2 separate regions of the Homo sapiens genome follow, and region 2 is linked to region 1. The links are contacts of gene promoters, found by promoter capture Hi-C in blood cells and fetal thymus (Javierre and others, 2016). All regions are on one chromosome and are shown on one strand. The core of a region is centred on a gene start or on the middle of the fragment in contact, and the rest is flanking DNA. Distances in the headings are between cores, read along the strand shown.

Region 1 (6,360 bases), core at 3,737-6,236:
GAGAGCTTTTGTACAGCAAAAGGAACAGTCAGCAAAGTAAACAGACAACCCACAGAGTGGGAGAAAATCTTCACAATCTATACATTTGACGAAGGACTAATATCCAGAATCTACAAGGAACTCAAACAAATCAGTAAGAAAAAAACAAACAATCCCATCAAAAAGTGGGCTAAGGACATGACTAGACAATTCTCTAAAGAAGATATACAAATGGCCAACAAACATATGAAAAAATGCTCAACATCATTAATGATCAGGGAAATACAAATCAAAACCACAGTGTGATACCACCTTACTCCTGCAAGAATGGCCATAATTAAAAAATCAAAAAACAGTAGATGTTGGCATGGATCCGGTGATCAGGGAACACTTCTACACTGCTGGTAGCAATGTAAACTAGTACAGCCACTACGGAAAACAGTGTGGAGATTCCTTAAAGAACTAAAAGTAGAACTACCATTTGATCCAGCAATCCCACTACTGGGTATCCACCCAAAGGAAAATAAGTCATTATATGAAAAAGATATTTCCACACACATGTTTATGGCAGCACAATTCACAATTGCAAAATCGTGGAACCAACCCAAATGCCCATCAATCAACGAGTTGATAAAGAAACTGTGGTATATGTATATATGATGGAATACAACTCAGCCATAAAAAGAAATGAATTAACAGCATCTGCAGCAACCTAGATGAGATTGGAGACTAATATTCTAAGTGAAGTAACTCAGGAATGGAAAACCAAACATCGTATGTTCTCACTGATATGTGAGAGCTAAGTTATGAGGATGCAAAGGCATAGGAATGATACAATGGACTGTAGGGACCTGGGGGAAAGAATAGAAGGAGGGTGAGGGATAAAAGACTGCAAATATGGTGCAGTGTATACTGCTCTGGTGATGGGCGCACCAAAATCTCACAAATCACCAGTAAAGAACTCACTCATGGCCCAGCACGGTGTCTCACGCCTGTAATCCCAGCACTTTGGGAGGCTGAGGCGGGCGGATCACGAGGTCAGGAGATCGAGACCATCCTGGCCAACATGGCGAAAACCCGTCTCTACTAAAAATACAAAAATTAGCTGGGCATGGTGGCACATGCCTGTCATACCAGCTACTTGGGAGGCTGAGGCAGGAGAATCGCTTGAACCAGGGTATCGGAGGTTGCAGTGAGCCGAGATCGCACCACTGCACTCCAGCCTGGCAACAGAGCAAGACTCCGTCTCAAAAAAAAAAAAAAAATCACTCATGTAACCAAATACCACCTGTACCCCAATAACTTATGGAAAAAATAAAAATATAATTAAAAAAGGAAACCTTGGCAGGATGGTCACTAAAATGTTAACAGTGGTGATCCTTGAGTAGTGACATGACCAGTGATTTTAATTTTCTGCTGTATGCTTTTCTGACTTCCAAATTTTCTACAATAGATGTCACTACTATAATTAGAGAAGAAATATTTGGGATTTTAAATGTACCCAACAAGGCCGGGCATAGTGGCTCACACCTGTAATCCTAGCACTTTGGGAGACTGAGGTGGGAGGATCCCTTAAGGCCAGGAGTTTGAGACCAGCCTGGGCAATATAGTGAGACCCCTGTCTCTATATAATCTTTAAAAAAAAAAGAAAAAAGGAAGTGAAAGTTGGAGGCCAAGGTCGTTTGATGAATGAGACTTGGCTGTACAGGCTGCTCATGCCTTCCTCCCCCAGGCCTCCATCACAGCCCTCACATCCCCCATTTTCCCCTCCCATATAAATAGCAAAAACCAGGAGCCACTGACACCAGTGAGACCAAAGAGAAAACTCTCAAGCAGAGAAATCAACTCGGCTTTAAAAACAGCATGTAATTGAGACTGGAGGCACCTGAATGGAGGCACAGGCTCCCCCAAGTTGACCTGAGTGGGTTGCTGGGGCAGCTGGCGCTTCACCTTAGAAGGGCAGTCTCCATTGTCTCCTCTCACTTTCCTGAGTTCCCAGTACCCAGAGAAAATGCTGAAGACAGGCTGCAGGAAGGAAAGAACTGGATCAACTTTTATTTGGTTGTTAAAGAGGTAATACATGCCTTAATTCATTCAAGAGATACAAAGGAGTACCAGTAAAGAGTGTCCTTCCCACGCCATACCACACCCTTCCACAACCTTCCACAACCTTCCGGTGTCCAGTCTCCTCCCTGTAGGTAAACACTCTCCCTAGCTTCTCCTAAGTCCTTTTAGAGAGGACTTGCATACACACACAAATGAGAGTCAAATTTAAAATCCGCTTCCTCCCTTTCCAGTGATTTTGGACAATATTGAACGAGGGACCCAGCAGCCCTGGGTTTTCATCTTTGTTCAGTCACTCACTGTGCATCTTCGAGCCCATCACTCATCCTCTCTTGAGCTTTGCTTTTCTCATCTGTAAAATGGGGTAAAAATCCCCCCAGGGTTACTATGTAGATGAAGTTGGATGCAAAACTATATGAAGAATTCCAATTGTATCTTTTTTTTTTTTGACACAGAATCTCACTCTGTAGCCCAAGCTGGAGTGCAGTGGTGCAATCTTGGCTCGCTGCAACCTCCGCCTCCTGGACTCAAGCAATTCTCATGCCTCAGCCTCCCGAGTAGCTGGGACTACAGGCACCTGCCACCATGCCTGGCTAATTTTTTGTATTTTAGTGGAGACGGGATGTCACCATGTTGCCCAGGATGGTCTTCAACTTCTGAGCTCAGGTAATCCGCCCGCCTCAGCCTCCCAAAGTGCTGGGATTACAGGCATGAGCTACTGTGCCAGGCCCAGTTGTATCTTTTAAGAACTACAAATAAATATGAAAAAGACCTGAGTCCCTCTGAAGAGGAAATGGGTCAATGGAGTTTGGGCTATCCCCAGAGCTCTCTCCCAGGTAAAGGATGTTGGCAGCTCTCCCAGGTAAAGGGTGGCTGGCTTCTCTGGGAGACAGAAGGTCCAGGCCTCACCCAGAAGCATGCCTTTGTCTTCTTGATCTGTAGATGCCATTTCCAGCTTGGAGACCTGGGGCCTTGACAGTGTTGGATTCTCTGTCACATCTGGTCTTGGGGGCTACTTATCTCTGTCATAAGTCCCCTGCCCCACCCTAGGGTCATATTTATATTAAGGATCCCTTCCTGCTCCTGGATCAGAGAGGGCCATCTTCGCAGGCCTGGGCAGTCACTGACATTGGCCCACCCAACCAGTTATCAATTAATCTCCATAGCTCTATCTGAGGATCTGGGGTTCAGGGCCTGGGAGAGGGAAACTGAGACAGACACAGAGATGAAGGGGAGCCAGGCAGACAAGATGGCAGATTCCTGTACAAGGTCAGCCAAGAGCAGGGCCTGAAAGAGTGTCTCTATTCAAGATCTGGACAGCAGACATTGTACTAGTGGCTGTTCGACTCCTGCTGAGTACAGGACCCCGGGTGGGATCATTTATCTGTCCTTCCATCCACCCCTCTGTTTGTCTTTCCAAAACTGCCTGCTGAGGACTAGCCAGAGACAAGCCCTCTCCCTGGCACAAGGCCACGTGCTAAGATGAATCAGATTGGGCCGGCTGGAGCCAGTGGGTGGAAGACAGAGGACGCACCAGGTGGAGGGCACAACAACGACCAGGGCTCGTGGGTGGGAAAATACTGGGCCAAGGCAGGCACTGGGGTTGAGTGCAGGGTGGAGGGTCTGAGCTCCCAGGGGGTGTACTGAAGGTTATGGGGAGGTCAGGAGAGGAGGGACAAACAGCAGGCTATGGAGGGACAAAGCAGAGTCCCTGAAGAAAGGAGGAAGCAGTAGACAAAATAACAGGGAGGGTGGAAGTCAGAGCCTCAGACTTAGCTCCATGGGGAAGCCACCTGGTGTCTGCCTGTCTTCAGGCCCATTGGTTGATGCCACTCCTTCTCACTCCCCCTTGGGGGATCTGGTTCCACCTGGGCCAAGGGTTCACATTGCCATTCCTGTCCCTGCATCTACCCCAGGGTTCCCGGACCCCCACACTCACAGCACACCCTTGTACCCAGCACCAAGGAGAAATGGTAAAGACCCCAGTGTCAGGCCAGGAGTGGTGGCTCACTCCTCTAATCCCAACACTTTGGGAGGCCAAGGCGGGTGGATTACTTGAGGCCAGAAGTTCAAGACCAGCCCAGGCAACATGGTGAAACCCCCATCTCTACAAAAAACACAAAAATTAGCTGGATGTGGTGGCACACACCTGTAATCCCAGCTACTTGGAAGGCTGAAGCAGAAGAATCACTTGAATCAAGGAGGTGGAGGTTGCAGTGAGCTGATATAGCACCAGCCTGGGTGACAGAGCAAGACTCTGTCTAAAAACAAACAAGCAAACAAACAAACAAACAAACAAATCCCACAAAACCCCCAGTGTCTGGAGTAAGAACCCCAGCTAATGAACCCTTTACCCCCTGGCTAGATGACCTTGGGCAAGTCACTTCACTTCTCTGGGCCTCACTCCCCTCCTCTGTCAGATAGGGCTGATGGAAGCACCCAACCTTGTAGGGTAACAGAGAGGGTTATACCATAGGAAGGACCCAAAGCTTGGTCCAGCGCCTGCAACAGCCTCTGGCAAACAGTGGAAGCTCCAGTTTTGGACACTTGATGGTCAGTGTAGTTTGCAGTTTAAAGGGGACTTTCCAACCCCAAAAGATTCAGGACCCAGAGCTCAGGTCTCTGGTGGTGGCATTTGCAGGTCTGGGGCAAGCCTAGGGAAGGGACGCCATGTGCGGCACGGGCATCTAGTGTCCCAGAGTCCGCACGGGTTGCTGGGGGAAAAAGAGGGATAGTCGCCCAGCCAGGGCAGGGGTGGGAGTTGGGGGGAGAGGGTTACTTCCTCCTGCCCTGAATCTCCGCTCGGGGTTCAACTGGCTCGCCGGCGGGCGAGGGCGGGGCAGGCCGGCCTCTCTGGCCCTGCTGGGGGGTGGGGGGCGGGTCCCCCGGGAACTGCTCCTCCCGCCAGCCGCTGCTTTAAGAGGCTGCTCCGCGGTAGCGAGCGGGGCCGGAGCCGCAGCCCGAACGAGCGGACCGAGCCGACCGGGCAGGTGCACGGCTGCGGGGACGGCAGCGGCATGACCGGCCACCACGGCTGGGGCTACGGCCAGGACGACGGTAGGCACAGACCTCCCCCACCGCCTCTGGCTCGGACCCCCGACCCAACTGCACTCGCCCCAACCCTCTTGCCCAGCTGGTTTCCCAGACCGGAAAGCTCCCACACTCCAGGCTGGGCGGGACCCCTCTTCCCATCCCGGCCCCCGAACTTGGCCCAAGCCTTGGTCCCCCGCGCCAGACGCAAAGTCCGCGCTGCGCCCCGGGTGGCCCCGCCGCCAGCAAGCGACCTGGCGGCTGTGTCCTGCCGCCTCCTCCGCGAAGCCCCTGATTGCCCAGCCCGCTCAGACCCAGGCCCAGACTCTCACTCACTCGCCCCGGGCGTGCGCAGCGCGTGGGGGTGGCCCAGGGCAGCGGGGGGCGGGCGCCGCGGAGCGCTGTGCGCGGGTGTCTGCGGGGAGCGCGCACGGCAAGTGAGCGGGGACCTCGGGGGAGCGGGGCTCCGCGTGGCAAGGGCGCAGTGTCCCCCGGAGAGAATTTCCCCGCAGAAGTGGCCGAGCTGCCTTCTCGGCCGGTACGTGAGGGAAGGGGGCACTTGGGGGCGCAAGCATGTGTCTGGGTGTCTACACCGAGCAGGGTGTTTGCGCACGTCCGGGTGTGAGTCGTGGGAGCCCGTGGCCCACACCAGCCTCCTGGGCTGACGCGGAAGAGAGCTCCTTCATCCTGCCTCAGTTTCCTTAGGACTCAGAGAAAGGGAGAAGAGGCAGAAGGTGAGAGCCAGACGGCTGGAGTGTGGGTCTGGGGCAGTCAATTCCCTTTGGGGCCATTTCTTACCAAGCAGGGGTGGGGGTGTGGGGTAAGGGGTTCCCTATTTCCCTGGGGAGCCAGTGCAAGACAGGTGGGGTGCGGAGAAGAAAAAGTAATGATGGGAGGAACATCCCCCAGCCCCACTCCTCTGCGGAGAGGCAGTCACTTTGTGAGGTTGGGTGGGGGACCACAGTCTGGGAAGCCAGAAAGTTGCAGTAGACCAGAGGGAGGGTGCTGTGGAGTCTTTGGCTCCCTCTGGGGCCCCAAGAACAAAGGAGCATATTTTGGAAGAGAACCCCCAGATCTGGGTATGCAAGAGCTGGAAAGAGACATTCAGAAAAAGATGATATAGACAAGCAGAGAGGGAGAGACAGGCAGACATGGGGCAGATGGACAGGACCCATAGGGATCATCTTCTCCCAGCACCTGCTCTGAGCCACCTTTTGGGTGCTTCCCCCAGAGCCAGAGTCCCCTGCCTCCAGCTCTTCTTGCTAGTCATGCCCACCAGCTCTGAGC
Region 2 (6,434 bases), core at 2,894-5,393, 260 kb before region 1:
CAAGCAAAATCCCCACTGCCACCCACTCTCCTTCTTGCACTGACTTCTTCAGGTGATATGAAGTTGCACAAACTCTGAGCTCATGAAAATCTTAATTCTAACATGCATTCTCCAAATAGGTACAAAAACAAGAGTCTGCTAAACCCCTTTTGAGAATTGTGGACACTATTTTTGAAATGTTAAGCAAGATCTTTTTGTCTATAAATAGGACTTTGATTTTCTGGACTAGAGAATTGTATTTTAAAGACAGATGATAAGAGAGATTGTAAGGGGGGAAAAGTGCACTGTCTAAAGTGAGGAATCCAGCCTATTCAGGAAGGAAGGAAGGAAAGAAGGAAGAAAGGAAGGAAGGAAACTGCCACATGTTGAAGTGCCCAGTATATGCCCTGCACCAAGCAGGGCACACTCTGACTTAATCTTTACAACTCTCATTTGTACAGATATAGGAACTGAGGTTAAATACCTTGCTCTGGGCCACAAGACTGGGACAAATTGGGACTCAAAAGAAATGGCAGATCAAATGCTTGGAAGATTCAGGGGGTTGGGAGGGGAGGTAGGGCTTTGGTTCAAGAAGTTAAACAATGAGAACAGAAATTAATGCAGAAAAAGAGTTCATTTGAATTCATTCTATAATCAATAAATATCTGTCAATCCCATTGATTGTGCCAGACATGAGCTCAGTGCTGGGGATAGAGCCCTTTCCCCTTTGGGGAAGCTCACAGATTCACTGGGGCAAGACATACCTAGGAAAAGCTCATTAAGCAGCCAGGAATTAAGTGACCATAAAGAGAAACATCCAAGGTTGTCAAGAGTCCCGGAGTGCACAGGGGAATATCTGTGCCATCAGCCCCTGGTCCCCATCGGCTGACTCCGCTATCACTCCTTCTACTGCCAGGGGTTCCCACCCCCAGGTATCCATTTCTTACCTGGATGGCAGCATCCCACCCCACCACGCACTGGTCTTCCTGCCTCCAGCCTGGTTCACCTTCCATTCACCTCATGAACACTGCAAGCAGGTTTTCTGAATCTCACACCTGACCTCCTGATAGAGTCCCAGATCCTGCACCTCTCCAGCCTCAACTCTGCCCCCTTCTCAGCGGCTCTGGAGGTCCTGGCCACACCAGATTCCTTAGAGACCCTAGTCCAGTGCCTGGGTCCTCCTCCTCCCCTTAGGAACTCCTTCCTGCCCTTTGCAAACATAGCCCAAAAGTCTTTCCACGGAGAGGGCTTCTCAGGACCTAACCCCTACCTGCAGCCACCTAGGGCCACTGCCCTTCCCTAGTCCTTTCCGGGTGCCTCAGACATCAAGCGAGGCTACTACTGGCAACAAAATCCCCCACTTCCAAAATCCCTTTTTCTGGGAAAGGCAGAATCCGCCTGCAGCAGCCAATTGGGCAGGCGCCAAGAAAGTAGTGAAGGGTCAGAGGGGACAGGAGGCCACCCGCAGCGCCCACCCTGGATAGGGATAGGTTCGAGAGGTTGCTACTGAGCTGCAAAATAACCCCGTCTTTCCTTCCCGCATATGGTCTTGTATCTGACAGTCCCTGTGTCTCACAGCGGTAATCGTGTGTTGCATCGATGCGTTTGTGGTCACCACGAAGATGAGGACCAACTTGAAAAGATTCCTGGGAGTCGAAGTTGAAAGGAAGCTTTCCCCCGCCAAGGACGCCTACCCCGAAACCGGCCCCGACGCCCCGCAGAGGCCCGCCTGAAGCCAGCCCGGCGCCCTAGCAGATGCACGTGTCTGTCGAATCGCTGCCTCCGAGCCCACCCCCGAGCTCGCATGCTGTCACCCATTCCAGCCTAAATGTGACCATAAAATTAGGGCTGCTGCTTTTATCGAGAACACCTGCTTCCTCTCGTTGCCTTGTGTGAAAGTCGCGTTGTATTTTCCTGCGCTTGGCGCTGCGCCCGCGGAGCTCAGGGCCGTGACCCGGTGCTCGCAGCCCCCCGACCCCGCAGCGGAGCGGCGGCTTACAGACCTGGGGCCACCTGGAGACGCCGGGATGGGACCGCGAGGGCAGCTCCGCGCGGAGGTGGGACCGGCGGGTTGGGAACGGAGTTGGGGCCCGTCGGGGGCCGGCGCGTGGAGGGTGGGAGGATCCGGCCGCTGCCGGGCGGATGGGAGCTGCGCGAGGAGACGGGCGCGCGTGGAGAGGGCGCGGGAGTTGGCATTCGGTGGTCCTGGCAGTTAGCTGAGCACGCCCTCTGAGCCGCTCGGTGGACACCAGGCACTCTAGTAGGCCTGGCCTACCCAGAAACAGCAGGAGAGAGAAGAAACAGGCCAGCTGTGAGAAGCCAAGGACACCGAGTCAGTCATGGCACCTAAGGCGGCAAAGGGGGCCAAGCCAGAGCCAGCACCAGCTCCACCTCCACCCGGGGCCAAACCCGAGGAAGACAAGAAGGACGGTAAGGAGCCATCGGACAAACCTCAAAAGGCGGTGCAGGACCATAAGGAGCCATCGGACAAACCTCAAAAGGCGGTGCAGCCCAAGCACGAAGTGGGCACGAGGAGGGGGTGTCGCCGCTACCGGTGGGAATTAAAAGACAGCAATAAAGAGTTCTGGCTCTTGGGGCACGCTGAGATCAAGATTCGGAGTTTGGTGAGCTAAACTGGTATCCCTGGGTGGGGGGCCTTGGCCGAGGGTGGGGGGAAGGAGGAGTAGGCTCCAGGGGTCCTCAGAGAGATGGTGAAAGGCCCTTGCTGCTGGCTCAGGTGTCTATGTCTCACTGCAGGGCTGCCTAATAGCTGCAATGATACTGTTGTCCTCACTCACCGTGCACCCCATCTTGAGGCTTATCATCACCATGGAGATATCCTTCTTCAGCTTCTTCATCTTACTGTACAGCTTTGCCATTCATAGATACATACCCTTCATCCTGTGGCCCATTTCTGTAAGTAAGGGGTGATGGGGAGTGCCTGCATCCAGAATGCTGATCAGGTGTGTCTTGGCACCTGGAAAGTCACCAAACAGAGAGACACACCTCACCTCCCATATCTGTGCCTGGGTCAGGGACTCAGAACATCAGTGGGGCCCAGGCAGAGGCAGCTGGGTGCAAGAGGGGTAGCTAGGCAGAAAATGCTCCAAAAAGCCTATCTGTGTGTTGGAGTGAGAGTGGGGAACTCTTACTTACCTGGTGGTCAAAGAGGGCCTGAGCCTTTGTTCTCTTTAGGGGAAGGGGAGGTGTAGCAACCAGCTGTTCCTCCGAACTCCTGTGCCAGCTCACACTTGACAGGAGATCACCCCAGAAGGACCCCATTCCCAAAATTCAAAGAAGAAAATTACTCTCCCATAAGTCAATAAAATAAAACAAAATGGGAATTTTTTTTAAAAATCACTTCTAAAGCAGCGTTAGGTCTCCAGTGAATATCCCTATAAAGGATGTTTGGATCAGAAGGATGTTCAGCCCAAAGCAGTCATCTAGTGGAAAGAGACAGAACTGGGCAAGTTACTAAACCATTCCCAGCCTGTTTCCTCATCTGTAACATGAGACAGTCACATTCCTTGCAGAACTGACATTCAATCCTGAGGATTAAATGTAAATTGCTTGACACCGTGCCTGAGGACTCATGGAATTGAATCCCTGCCCATCACCTGTTTAACCACAGGGCACAACCACCTAACCCCTTGCCAGTCAATGAAGACCCCAATTCCCAAGTCCCTTTGTTCATTGCACATTCACAGCCTGCCTCCAGAGCCCTCTTGTTCACTGTTTCACTCACGTTACACATGAGGAAATTGGCCTAGAATGGCCAAGTAACTTGCCCCCAGGTCACTCAGCTGGTAAGTAGCAGAAAAAAGCTTCAAACTTAGCTTTATGAGTACATTTCATCCTGCCTTCTTGTTAAAAACTATTAGGGTCCAGGGATCCAGAGGTCTTGGTGAAGCAGATGAGGACCTCCGATACAGGGAGAAAGGACAGGAGGGCCAAATAAGGACTCTCAGAAAAGGGACAAGCAGAGGACAAGGTAAAAGGACAGGCAGAGGACAAGTTCCTAAACAAGGAGCCTGAGAAGACATTTTTAGTTCCAGCAAGATGAAAAACCAATGAACCCTGAACATCTTCCCACTGTGCTTACCTAAAAATACCAGGGGAAATGTAACCAGTATTGCTTTAACTGAATGAATGAGCTGGCAAAAAAGAAATGAAAACACACAGGCGCCAGAAATGGCAAACAGGGCAGTGATCACATAAGCTACAAAGTATGAGTGGGAATGGTCCAAGAGGTATTGTCTCAGGAACCTACAGCCTGGATTTTCATGCACTCTCAAGTCAGGAAATAAGGCCTTGATCCTAAGCAAAGTGGGAATTTAGAACTGAAAACCCTGTATAAAGCCAGCGCCCTGGAAAGACTACCTCCTTAGGGAAAAGATGGACAAAGACACATACCCTTCTTATTCCCAACACAGAGGAATAAGAAAACATGTTCATCTCTGCCTGAGCTTTGAGTGGGCGGAGAGGAAGTCTTCCTTGAGAAATAGAAAGCTTAAGCCTGCCCTTTGTACAGATTGGAGTTTGAATTTTTGTTATCTGCAGCCTAGAAACCTTCATGCAGCCCAGAAACCTTCATCCCTGGGAATTACCATAAAAACTGATCCCAGTCTGATGACATTCTGCTGATATCCTTGGACTCCTGATAGAAACAAATGCAAAATCACAATCAAGGCATGAAGAGATTCTCACAGTGGGGGTGGGGGGAAAACCTTGTCAAAAATGAACTAATAATTCAAAACTACTAAACACCTGATTTTAAAAAATCCCCATTACTAAGAATCAACAAACACAACAAATGGATTAGAATCCTGAGAATATGAGATAATAGAAGAGCTGTCTGAAAATAATAATATATTTTAAGGGATTATAGACATAAGAGTCCTGAGAAAAGAGTAAGACACTATGAGGACAAAATAGACAGATTTTTAAAAAGTACAGTGTCTAGAATAGAAAATATAGTTATTGAAATAAAAATGTCAATAGATGAATTCAAAAACAGATCAGACATAGCTGAAGGAGGGAACTGTTAACTGAAAGGTATGGGGAAATTACCCAGAACACAGCACACAGAGAGAGAGAAAATAAGAGATTGAGACAGAACAATGAGTGAGAACATCCATCAGTGGTTGTTGGGCTGGGTGTGGTGGCTCACACCTGTAATCCCAGCACGTTGGGAGGCTGAGGTGGATGGGTCCCTTTGGTCCAGGAGTTTGAGACCAGACTGGACAACATAGGGAGACCCTGTCTCTACAAAAAAATTTAAAAATTAGCCAAGCATGGTGGCACATGCCTGTTGTTCCAGCTACTCAGGAGGCTGAGGTGGGAGGATGGCTTGAACCCAGGAGGTCAAGGCTACAGAGAGCTCTGATGGTGCCACTGCACTCCAATCTGAGTGACAGAGTGAGACCCTGTCTAAAAAATAATAAAAGAGGTGTCAAGAAGCCAGGCACAGTGATGTGTGCCTGTAGTCCCAGCTTCTCAGGAGGCTGAGGCAGGAGAATGGCATGAACCCGGGAGGCAGAGCTTGCAGTGAGCCGAGATCGTGCCACTGCACTCCAGCCTGGGCGACAGAGTGAGACTCCATCTCAAAAAATAAATAAATAAAATAAAATAAAATAGACATCTATCCAAACCTGCACAAATTGTATTTTAGGTGACACTTCAGGAGCATTTCCTTAGAGATGCTTACTAGCTTCTCTTGTATTCAACATTGTGATAGAGACCTTAGTTCAATATGACAAGAAAAACAAAAGGTATAGAGATTGACAAGAGGAAAAATCTAATAGAATTATCTACACAGAAAATCTAAGAGAATCTACAGTCAAATCACTAGAACTGATTGAGTTCCACAAGGTTACCAGACACAAAAGCAGTAGTGTTCCTGAATACCAACAATGAACAATGAGAAACATAGGATTTTTTTGGCTGGGCACGGGGGCTCACAGCTGTACTCCCAGCACTTTGGGAGGCCGAGGTGGGTGGACCACTTGAGGCCAGGAGTTCCAGACCAGCCTGGCCAACATGGTGAAACACCAGCTCTACTAAAAATACAAAAATTAACCAGGCATGGAGGTGCATGCCTGTAATCCCAGCTACTCGAGAGGCTGAGGCATGAAAATCGCTAGAACCCAGGAGGCAGAGGTTGCCATGAGCCGAGATGGAGCCACTGCACTCCAGCCTGGGTGACAGAGCGAGACTGTCTCAAAAAAAAAAAAATGCTCTTTAAAAGAAATCACTTAAAACAGCAACACAAACTACAAGGTGTCTAAGAATAAACCTACTGAAAGATGTGTAAGACACTACATAGAGATTATAAGACTTTAGTAATGGACATCAAAGGAAAATGTAAATAGAGAAACATTCCACATTCACAAATATGAAAACTTATCATAGAGATGTCAATTCAATTCTGAATTAATCTATAAATTAAATAAAAT

The links. Contacts are between HindIII fragments. The CHiCAGO score rates a contact against its expected background, and 5 or more counts as called.
Region 2: a contact is called between a fragment that was not itself captured here and the fragment with the promoter of CA7 in region 1, in 1 of 17 cell types (endothelial precursors). The highest score is 6.1, in endothelial precursors.

Annotation. Positions count from the first base shown.
Region 1 is chr16:66,839,428-66,845,787 of GRCh38, forward strand. CA7 (carbonic anhydrase 7) reads left to right here and starts at 4,987. Exons shown (of 7, transcript NM_005182.3): 1 at 4,987-5,100. The coding sequence starts at 5,061. It overlaps LOC124903699 (a long non-coding RNA gene), which reads right to left. Exons shown (of 4, transcript XR_007065088.1): 4 at 2,006-2,395. RefSeq lists an enhancer at 4,915-5,416. The HindIII fragment of the contact is 7,096 bases long and covers 4,531-6,360 here.
Region 2 is chr16:66,577,290-66,583,723 of GRCh38, forward strand. It overlaps CMTM2 (CKLF like MARVEL transmembrane domain containing 2), which reads left to right and starts at 2,174. Exons shown (of 4, transcript NM_144673.3): 1 at 2,174-2,603; 2 at 2,737-2,895. The coding sequence starts at 2,319. It overlaps CKLF-CMTM1 (CKLF-CMTM1 readthrough), which reads left to right. Exons shown (of 4, transcript NM_001204099.2): 4 at 1,542-1,846. The coding sequence ends at 1,712. CMTM1 (CKLF like MARVEL transmembrane domain containing 1) reads left to right here. Exons shown (of 4, transcript NM_052999.4): 4 at 1,542-1,846. The coding sequence ends at 1,712. The HindIII fragment of the contact is 685 bases long and covers 3,802-4,486 here.